Linked DNA regions of Homo sapiens: all the other regions are linked to region 4. Evidence: promoter capture Hi-C in 16 types of primary human blood cells and fetal thymus (Javierre and others, 2016). All regions are on one chromosome and are shown on one strand. The core of a region is centred on a gene start or on the middle of the fragment in contact, and the rest is flanking DNA. Distances in the headings are between cores, read along the strand shown.

Region 1 (2,700 bases), core at 153-2,652, 230 kb after region 4:
CACAACTCAGAAAGAAAGGTTGTAGAATGGGAAGCAGAGGTCTGAGACATTTATTTATAATTTTCCTTTAGAATCACTTTAAAAACTGAACATTCACATGGCCTTTGCATGTTCCCACCTAGGGAGGACTGAGATGATATATTTCCATTCAGCAGCTTCTGCTGTTAGATAAAGAACTGAGACAAACCTCTTCCTAAAATGAATTTTTTTAAAAATAAAGAATTTGTTCTTTGAAGCTTCAACTATTTAGGCAAAAGGTACCTCATCTTTGTGTTCTAGTTATTTAAATGTTATGAATAAGTAGGAAGTATCATAATCATCTCTACTCCCCTGCCGCCAAATCCTGAACTTGTAGGTAGATGGTGTAAATATGTGTCATAATTTTTAAACCAAAACCACTAGGGTCATAGAGTGTTATTTTAAATCTGATCCTTAAAAACAAAGTTTTAACCCAAGGTACTTTAGGTAAGTAATGTACCTAAAGAAAGATAAGAACATACTGAGGATAAAACATATGCAATTTGCTCCCTGGGATTAGTTCCAGGTCTTGATGCATGGGTTTTATTCCTTCAACCCGAAAATATTGTCTTTTAGCTTGTTGTATTAGTGAAGGTAACAATATCCCATACACATCTCACATTTTCAGTATAAATCAAGACAGGTTTATTTTTCAAGTGCAATGGGTCCTTGTGCTGTTAAAAAATGATTGTATTTACCAGGATAGGAAAGAAAAAATAGCAAATATTTATTAAATACTCCTATGAGCCTGGAGCTGTGCTTAGAGCTTTACCTATATTACCTCATTTGAAGGAATAGTCAGGATTTGCTTTCTCTGAAGCCACTTCTGGGTACTAGAAAACTGAATCATCACCCACCTAGTTGTCCAGAGGCATTACATTTATATGGCACTTTAAACTTCTCTTGAGTACTTTCATATCTATAATCTCTTTAAAATCCTGTGTTGCAGTTAGGGCAGATATGATAAAACTAAGAAGATGGGTGAAATTGTCTAAGAATAACCAAACATGGAGTAGCAGAGCTAAAAATAGAAGCTAAACCCTACTGTCTTCTATTCTTATCTATAAAATGAGGAATATTTATAACTTGTTTTCAAGTTTCCTTCTAGTTTCCAAAGCCACGCCCTACAAGTCTTTGCCCAAGACTAAGAGATAATCAGCTATACTACCTTCCAGAACATTTAGAAAATGGTTTACTATCAATTCTAGGCTCCTTTCCTCTTCAAGCTTCTAAAGATGGGTTCTAACTTTAGAAATCTACTTTAATTCAACCAAACTGGGCATTGTTGTAAGTGCTCTGGGAATTTGAGAGATAAATGAGCTAAAGTCTCTAAGACTCCTAAATTTCCTTTGTAAGAATAAAGGAAAGAGACCATTTTAACTGGGGGAAATAGGGAAGTCATCAGTAAGTCCAGTTAATGTGAGTAGCATATTCAGGGCTGTTTTCAGTACACTGTATGAAAATAACTTTTTGCAGGGCTGAATTCTACAAGCAAGCTCCATAAGTTTGGGGAACTATAGCAGAGAAGAATATCCTAATGAGGAAGCTTTATTTATTTATTTGCTCTAATTATTCTTAGTGCCTGTCCAATGCTTAGCCTGGAGAGGAGAATCAATGTGTTATGTGCATTTCTTAAAAAATATATATTGAATAGGTAAATAAGAAACTATTTTAAAAAATCAATAGTGCTATCAATGTATTTAGTTACCCATTTAAAAACTATGTATTGAATGTAACTCTATATATAATCCTTGTCCACATGGAATTTCTAATTTAATGAGAGGGACATACATTAAACAACTAATCACACAATTAATTTATTACTCCAATGGCAGTTATTTCCCTTGACCCTAGGATCACTTCTCTCTGTCTCCCATCTGCTTTCAGGTCATCCAGTTGACCACTGTTCTTTGAGCTGAGGGTTCCTTCCTGCTCCACTGTGAGCCACGGGCCACATCATACCTGGCTGCTGTTGACCCAAGATACCCTGTAAAATTCTGCTTCCTCTTCAAGAGCCCATAGGGAGGATGGAGGAGTGTGAGGCAAGCCTTGTCTCCATCTGCAGCCCCATCTTTTACTCTCTCCATAACCTCACCACACAAAAAACGTCAAACTATGTGTTAAACATGACTTTTTCAAAGCTCCAGGGGAGATTTCCCATAAAGTGAAACCCTCTATAAGGGAGTAACTCTGTTCTTAACCACATCCTCCCTTCCTTTCACTCTGAGAGTACCATCTTTAAGTCTCCATCCACCTTTTGAAAAAGATGCTTTTGTAAATACTACATTTAAAAAACAGCAGTAGTCACACACACACACTGCATACAAAACATACGTTATTTTTATTGGTGGTTGCTTAATGGGGGAGGGCAGTAGAGATCAGAGGGCAGTTCAGCCACCACCCCTGCCCCAGGCCACCTCCAGAGCTAGTCTTAATCACTTCCACTGGGGTGGGCGTGGGGGGATCCACAGAGGAACATTAGAGATGGCAGGAATCTCCCGACAGTGGTCCTGCTCCTAATATGCTACCCCCAAACAGGAAGCGGGCTAGAAGAGTTTCTAATGACTCTACTGTAGGTAATTCCAGATGAGTCCCAATCCCAGGGCAGGAGCCACGCACTCCTCGGGTATATGCCGTGCGGTGTTGTTTGGGGAGGCAGAAAGGGGCAGGCAGCTTGCTCCT
Region 2 (2,700 bases), core at 188-2,687, 150 kb before region 4:
TTATTTAATCAAAGCTTTATGTGACGGGGAGTCTTCATAAATGAAGACCTAAAGACCTAAGAAAACTCTATTTTTATGCTTAATTTTATGTTCAGTGAAGAATGGACAGCCATGAGGAAATGTGATTGAACAGAAGGGGTATGATCTAATGGTCATAGGTTGAGAGGGGAAACCCAGTGATACGGTTTGGATCTGTGTTCCCACCAAACCTCATGTTGAAATGTAATACCCAGTGTTGGAGGTAGGGTGCAATGCGAGGTCCTTGGCTCACGGAAGCGGCTCCCTCATGAATGGATTAGCACCATCCCCTTTCTGATAAGTGAGTTCGCGGAAGATTTGGTCATTTAAAAGTGTGGGGCACCTCCTACTCTCTCTCTCTTGCCCCTCTCTTGCCATGTGATATGCCGACTCCTGCTTCACCTTCTACTGTGAGTAAAAGCTCCCTGTGACCTCCTCGGAAGCCAAGCAGATGCTGAAGACATGCTTCCTGTACAGTCTGCAGGACTGAGAGTCAATTAAACTTCTTTTTAAAATAAACTACCCAGTCCCAAGTATTTAAAGCAATGCAAGAACATCCTAACACACCAAGCAAGGCTTGGCTGTTGGATGCTTCTTGGCCTCTTGGTGTGGTGCTCCTCCCTCCAGGGTGTGGGGCAGAACCACTCTAGAATGAGGGTCTTGTGACCTACTATCAGTCAAGGTAGGCCAAATAATTTATGGCCAGCTCCTACACAGAAAGGTGGGGCAAGGTTAGAGGAATGTATTTGAATGCTTTGAAGTGAAGGAAAGGGACCTAGTATTTGGCATGCCAATGTGCCATACTTTGGTGTATAGTGTTCTGAGCCTCAACAATCTCTTTTCCTTTCTTCTCTCAGCACTGCTTGGAACATGTGTGTGTGTGTGTGTGTGTGTGTGTGTGTGTGTGTGTGTGTGTTGGAAGGTTATGATGCAAAAGTTAGTTTTTGGGTGTCTATGGACCCTGTCACTTCTGGGAACCAGCTCCTCTTGACTAAGTGTGTGGGATGGGAATTGAGAGGAAGGGGAAAAGAAAACCCAAATGACCCCATATCCAGATGGATGAGGTTGACAGTGTGTTCACTCACCAGCAGCTCCTGCAGGCCCTGGTGGAACCTAGCCAGGCCTTGTGCTGCACCTCTCTGATGTCCACTTCACCTCTAGCTTTCGGCTTCAGTGGTCCTAGCTAGTATTCAGCCAACTAATCTCCCCTGGCCTCCTCCAAAGCCAACTCTCTGGTGGGTAGACTCCAATTTCCATGTTTCCTGAGAACTGGGAAGTTGGTAGAGGTGGAAAAAAGGTGGTGCTGGTCCCCTTTCTGAGCAATCAAACTATCTCTCCTCATTCCTTTTGCCCAGCTTAGTAGTATGATGTGGGGTGAGGTCAGTAAGTCCTCCAGCTAGGCTGAGTTCTGAATGCCTCTCCCTTTGTGCAGCCCCTCCTACCCTCATGAAAGATTCTGTTGCACCCTTTTCTTCATGTGGCTTCAGGAAATGGAAGCTGCCTTTCTCCAGCCTCCTGGGGATATTGGCTTACTAGCTAGTTCTCTCTCCTCACTAACTTCCACCCCCTACCTGGGGCTTCAAGGAAACTCCTCTCTGGCTTCCTACACCACTTGAGAGGGTGAAAAATTCAAAGTGACAAAGAGCACTTGTTCTATCCCTAAGGTTTCTCAAAACTATCTGGCCATCAGAGTTCTCAATGCAATTGTCGAGGCCAGGTTCTCTTTGCTCTCATGGGAGTAAGGAGAAGAAGGGTGAAATCTGTAGACAGAGCCATGTCTAAATCTTTCATACTTCTCTGCCCTCCCCAATGTTTTTTTCCTCTCCAACTCCCCTGGAATTAGGGGTAAAAATTCTTGTGCTGCCTGCTCATATTTCTTTTTCATTATTTTCTGTTTACTTGGGTGACAACGTTTTAATTTAAAAGCTGAGACTATAGAACCTTTCATCTTTGTTGTGGACAGTTTCTGAAATGGTCATTGTCAATCTTGGAAGCACATCAGTATCACCGAGAGAGATTTAAAAAGACAAATCAGAATACTTGTGGGGTAGAACCCAGGTATCAGAAATGTTTAAAAGCCACTCATGTGGTGCTGATGTAGAAGATGACTGGGAACCACTGCTTTAAAAGCACAGGTGCCCAGTGGGATAGGAGGGAAAGAACATGCCCATTAATACCTCATATAGCATCGTGACACAAATGCAGAAAGCCAGGCACAGAGAGACTGAGACAATTCCTTTAGGTGATACAGCTGGTAGTTTTCAGAGTGGGAATCTAATGGAGCCCCAAAGCTCATGTTCTCTTTCAATGTATTTGTAAAGTTCATAGGCCAGAGCAGCACACTTCACCTGTCCTTTCTACTCCTTCCTCTCATTTCTGTGCCCTGTCCACCTCCCACGATGCCTTCAGACCCATACATTACAAGTGACCGGGAACTGGTGTAAGTAAAAACTGTTGAATACACATTTCCTTTGGACAGTTGAGATTTCTACTGCATTTCACCCCTATAGAATGATCAACTTTCTAAACAAACTTCGTTCTTATATGAGTTATAGTGCTATCGGTAGAGACCTGAGTTGATATTTCTTACTCCTTGTCATGCTTTCTAATCGCATGACCAGGCAAGCCTTGGGACAGGACTGTGAGTTTCTAGTCTTGTCTGAAAACATGACTGTCTCATGT
Region 3 (2,700 bases), core at 133-2,632, 210 kb after region 4:
AGAATGACCAAATGCATTACTTTCCAACCTGAAATTCTGTGCTGCTCTGATTTGATAAAGCATTATACCTCCATCAGAGACATCTAAACAATATGGATTACATATTATGTGTTAAATAAAATTTTCATATGTGAAACTTTTCTACAAGAACGTAAGAGTAAAAACAAAGAAAAATGTAAAGTTATTTGGCAGAACTTAATATAGACCTGCTCTGTCCAATACTGAAGTCATAGGCCACATGTAGCTATTTCAATGACTGAATATTCAATCAAATTAAAAATTCAGTTGATTTTATTTTGGAAATAATTTAAAGCTAATATAGTTGTTGAAAAAAATAGCACAGGGAGTTTCATGTACCCTTCATCCAGTTTCCCCCAATAATAACATCTTACATAACCATAGAGCAATGATCTAAGCTAGAAAATTGAAGTCAGTACAATACTATTAACTAAACTACAGACTTTATTTGGATTTTACCAGTTTTAATGTGTACTTTCTTTGGTGTTTAGTTCTATGACATTTTATCACATATGCAGATTTCTGTAACAATAATTGTAATCAAGATACAGAACTGTTTATCACCCATTTATAATTATGCCTTCCCCCAAACTCTAAACTTGGCAAGCACTGATCTGTTGTGCATAAGTATAATTTAGTCCTTTCGAGAATGTTATATAAATGGAACTATACATTATATAATATTTAAAGATTTTTTTTGTCATGCAGCATAATACCCATCAAGTTGTTGCATATATCAACAGCTTATTTCTTTTCATCACTGAGTAGTATTCCATTGTACAGATGTACCATAATTTGTTTATACATCCACCTGTGGAAAGATATTTGTTTCTAGTTTCTTACTCTTACAAATAAAGCTTCTATGAACATTTGTGTTCAGATTTTGTGCAGATCTTCTGTCTAGTAATTTATTAATTACTGAGAGAAGCCCCCAGATATAAGTGAGGGTTTTCCTATTTCTCCTTTCAGTTATGTCCCTTTTTGCTTCATGTATTTTGAAATTCTGTTGCTTGGTGCATGCATGTTTAGGGCTGGTATGTGTTCTTTGGTTAATTAACTCTTTTTATCATTTTGTAGTGTCTCTCTTTGTCCTTGATAATTTTCTTTGCTGTGAAGTCTACTTTGTCTGATATTAATATGGACATACCAAATTTCTTTTGATTAATGTTTGTACAATTTTCCTGTACTTTTAAATTACCTATAACATACCTAGAGTTGAAGTAAGCCTCTTGTAGGCAGCATGAAGTTGGATTTTAAAATCCATTTTGTCAATCTTTGTCTTTTAATTAGTATGTGTAGACCACTTACTTTAAAAGTAACTGAGGCCGGGCACAGTGGCTCACACCTGTAATCCCAGCACTTTAGGAGGCTGAAGCGGGTGGATCACCTGAGGTCAGGAATTTGAGACCAGCCTGGCCAACATGGTGAAACCCTGTCTCTACAAAAAATACAAAAATTAGCTGGGCATGGTGGCAGGCACCTGTAATCCCAGCTACTCGGGAGGCTGAGGCAAGAGAATCGCTTGAACCCGGGAGGTGGAGGTTGCAGTGAGCTGAGATCATGCCATTGAACTCCAGCCTGGGGGACAAGAGGAAGACTTTGTCTCAAAAAAAAAAAAAAAAAAAAAAAGAAGTACTTGTTAGTTTTTTAGAATTCAGGTATGCTGTTTTATTATTTGTTTTCTGTTTGTTTCCACTGCTTTTTGTTTCTCTGTCTTCTTTTTTGGACCTTCCTGTGAGTTATATAAACTTTTTTAGAATTCAATTTTAATTTCTCTATAATGATTTTATTTCTCACTTCATGTAGTTTAAAATATTCATACTTATTACTGTCTATTATTATCAATATTTTACCATTCCAAGTAGAATGCAAAAGCTTTATCATCATTTAAATCTCTTTACTTGCCTTCATCTAAAAATCAATAATGGTCAATTATATTTCTTTATGTATTACTTTTTCTATTTTTTTATTTCTGATGTTCCAAGTTTTTTCTATATTATTTTCTTTATGTCTGAAGAATTTTCTTTGACACATTCTCTTAGTTTTCTTCATCTAAAAATGTCTCTATTTCCTAGTACCTCCTTGTTCACTTCAGTACACCAATCTCCACACTGACCCCTGGGATACTTCTTTATTTCTCAGACCTCTAGTTTCATTCCCTGCTTAAAGTTTTCCCAAACTAGAGAGAAATTTTTGTTAGATATAGAATTCTGACTTGACAACTGTTTTTGTAAAGAAAAATTACTTGAAAAATGTTGTGCCACTTTCTTCTGGCTTCTGTAATTTCTGAGGAGAAACCCACAGTGATTCAAATCATTGATCTCCTAAAACTGATGTATTATTTTCTCTGGCTACTTTCAAGATTTTGTCTTTGCTTTTAGTTTTCAAAAATCTGATTATTATGTGTCATCTGGGTGTGGATTTATTTTGATTTATTATGCTTGAGTTTTGCTGAGTTTATTATCTATTGGTTTGTAGCTTTCACCAAATTTGGGTAGTTTTCAATCATTTTTTCTTTGACTATTTTTTCAGGCCCTCCCTTTTTTTTTGTCTGCTTGGTTGTTTACTTTTTAGATGTGGTATCACTATATTGCCCAGGCTTCTCTCGAAATCCTAGGCTCAAGAAATCCTTCCACCTCAGCTTCTCAAGTAGCTGAGTTTACAGGCATGCATCACAACATG
Region 4 (2,700 bases), core at 111-2,610:
ACGCTCTCCGGCCTCTGGACATTTCTGTATACCCAGCCAGTTCGTGGGACTCTCTGATAAATATGAAGAAGAAAAAGAAGTTTTAAAGAACAAATATTAACTATCTGCTATGCTCTTCAAGAGATGTCCAGGATATAACACACAGAAGCCGGGTCATAATTTCAGAACCTATTACAAAATGTTTTGCTAAACTAGCTAAAATGATAGACATCTGGAATCAAATGAACTAGAGAGCTCAGAGAATGAAAGGGGTAGAAGACAGAGAGAGATAAGTCACAAAGTCCATTCGTCAAATTATTCTGTTACTGATGTATAATTATGGAACATATGCAAGTCCTTTAAACAAAAACAAAACTGCATTTTTCCGAACAAGAGTTGCGGCTTTTTGCCTTCAAATAATCCTACACAAGCAGAAAACACTGTATTGAAGGGTCTGAACGTGAACGAGTGATAGGCTTCCAAATTCTGAGGCACAAGGGATAAGGGCACTTCTAATTGCTTGATGCTACCAGCCGTGACTCTTCCTTTTATTCACATCATAACTTCATCTTGTGAAACTGCATTTCTTCCTCAGAATTCTACATCTCTAAGGAATGTTATAAATAGTAGTCAGAGTGGCATGAAACGGATAATTTACTTTGAACTTGGGAGAGAGACGGGGAAGACGCACATGATGAAACTCGTGTGTATTACATTAAATCCCGTTTGGGGGGTGGCCGGGAGAAAAGTCTTGTTTCTGGAAGTAACTGTGAGACAGACATAAAAAGCTCCACTTAAAATCTGAGGAGCCGACAGATTCTGTTCTTCCCACCCGTGCTCAGAAGCAGCCGCGCTTTACACACACACACACACACACACGAGTTCTGGGGTCGTGAGCACACACACACACACACACACACACGAGTTCTGGGGTCGTGAGCCCCGGAAAAGCTCAGTGCAGGCAGGGCCAGGCCGGCTGCTCTCCGGGAACTGGCGCGGCTGCAGTGCGGACCTCGCGGCGCCAGGCTCTAGGCTCAGACTCCGGGCCGCCCCAGCTGGCCAGCCTGTCCCGCCGGCTGCTTCCTCCGTCCACCGTCGGCAACGCGCGGCCGCATCCGCAGGACTGGGGCCTTTCCGGAATTCGGCGTGGCGGACGCGGCGCAGGAAGGGCAAAGACCGCCGGCCGAGCGGGGAGGCCGGAAGCTCCGCCGCCCCACAGTCCCGCCCGCTCGGCCGCGGCCTCCCGGCCTGGTGCCCGCTCACCTTGAGCTGCCCTACCAGCCGCAGGAACTGCAGTAGGGACCGAGCCCCGTGGCCCGAGAAGGTCGCAGAGGAGACCGAAGCCATGCGGCCACCGACCCCGGCTGGGCGGAGCAGGCCGCGGCGAAGCTCCTCCCCGTCCTCCTCCTCCTCCCCTTCCCCTTGTCTTTCTTCCCCCTCCTCTTACTCTTCTATCTCTTTCTCCTCCCCCTCTTCTTCTTCCTTCTGCCCCTCTTCCTGCTCCCCCTCTTCCTCCTCCCCTTCCAACTCCTCCTCCTCCTCCCCCACTTCCGCTTTCTCCTCTTCCTCTTCCTCCTGCCCCTCTTCCTCTCTCCCCCTCCTCTTCCTCCTCCTCCTGTTCTTATTCCTCCTCCCCCTCCTCCTCCTGTTCTTATTCCTCCTCCCCCTCCTCCATATTCTCACGGTTTTCTCAGGACCTTCTGTCCAGCCTTCGCCTTCTTGGCCTTGGTGTCCGCTGCTTGGGCATTGCTCCGTCAGTGGCAGACACCTTGCTTGGCACATACTTGACACTCAGTACTCTTTATGAAAAATAAAGCTCTCCTTTCTAAATTTATGAACCTCGTTATTCTTCAGTTGACAGTGTAAAACCATGAAACTGGATGAGGTCACCTGGCAAGAGGGTGTGAATGAAGAAGAAAAGACACCCAAGACCTGAACCCCAACATTTAGGCTTTGTGAGATCAAGAGGGAACAGCCAGTGAGGTAGGAAGAGGATTAGTAGGTAGGATAGTTGTGTCCTGGAAGCCATGTACAAAAATATTTCAAGAAGGAAGGAATATGGTCAACCAAGTCAATGTGAGGACCAAGGTTTGACTTCCAGACTTAGTAAATTCAATATTATTGGTTACCCTGACAAAAGCAGTTTTCAGTGTAGTGGGCCAAGCAGAACCTAGTGAGATAATTCCGAAGAGAATAGGAGCAAGTATTACAGCACATTGGAGATGGGGTTGGGGTGCTGTTAACTAGTGGAGAGATTGTTTCAAAACAGGAGATATTATGTATGTTTACTGATGAAGGGGATCTAGTAGAAAGGGAAACATTGATTATGTAAGAGACAAAGAAGAGAAATATTTGAATGTCGGCCTTGAGTAAGGAAAAATATTCCCATCTGGTGTACAAGATAAAAGATGGGCTTTAGATAGGAATATGGAGAATTCATTCAAATATTGGAGGAGGACAGAGTATAGGGTGACTAATCAGTCGCACATGTGGTCATGGGAGGTTGTAGAAGTTCTCTTCTGATTGCTTCTATTTTCTCACCAAATTAGGAAGCAAAGTATAGGCTGGGATGTTATAATAACAAACAACCTCCTTATTTCCTGTATCTCAGCAGTTTAACACATCAAAGGTTTATTTCTCTCTCATGCTAAGTGTCTATTGTAGATCAGCTAGAGGATGCTGCTTGCTCTAACCTTACTCAGGGAGCTAGGAGGCTTTCTT

Evidence for each region. The method cuts DNA at HindIII sites, captures the fragments that hold promoters and counts their contacts. A CHiCAGO score of 5 or more calls a contact.
Region 1: a fragment that was not itself captured here is called in contact with the fragment with the promoter of HDDC2 in region 4 in 1 of 17 cell types (megakaryocytes); the score reaches 5.1 in megakaryocytes.
Region 2: a contact is called between a fragment that was not itself captured here and the fragment with the promoter of HDDC2 in region 4, in 2 of 17 cell types (M1 macrophages and M2 macrophages). The highest score is 5.3, in M1 macrophages.
Region 3: a contact is called between a fragment that was not itself captured here and the fragment with the promoter of HDDC2 in region 4, in 1 of 17 cell types (erythroblasts). The highest score is 5.1, in erythroblasts.

What each region holds. Positions count from the first base shown.
Region 1 is chr6:125,531,123-125,533,822 of GRCh38, forward strand. No RefSeq gene overlaps it. Among named protein-coding and RNA genes, the nearest start is that of LINC02523, 140 kb to the right of the region's middle. RefSeq lists an enhancer at 2,389-2,700. The HindIII fragment of the contact is 320 bases long and covers 1,243-1,562 here.
Region 2 is chr6:125,146,287-125,148,986 of GRCh38, forward strand. No RefSeq gene overlaps it. Among named protein-coding and RNA genes, the nearest start is that of TPD52L1, 6.1 kb to the right of the region's middle. The HindIII fragment of the contact is 2,850 bases long and covers 13-2,700 here.
Region 3 is chr6:125,513,800-125,516,499 of GRCh38, forward strand. No RefSeq gene overlaps it. Among named protein-coding and RNA genes, the nearest start is that of LINC02523, 160 kb to the right of the region's middle. The HindIII fragment of the contact is 1,018 bases long and covers 874-1,891 here.
Region 4 is chr6:125,300,607-125,303,306 of GRCh38, forward strand. It overlaps HDDC2 (HD domain containing 2), which reads right to left and starts at 1,361. Exons shown (of 6, transcript NM_016063.3): 1 at 1,243-1,361; 2 at 1-53. The coding sequence starts at 1,326. RefSeq lists a silencer at 1,051-1,390. The HindIII fragment of the contact is 13,888 bases long and covers 1-2,700 here.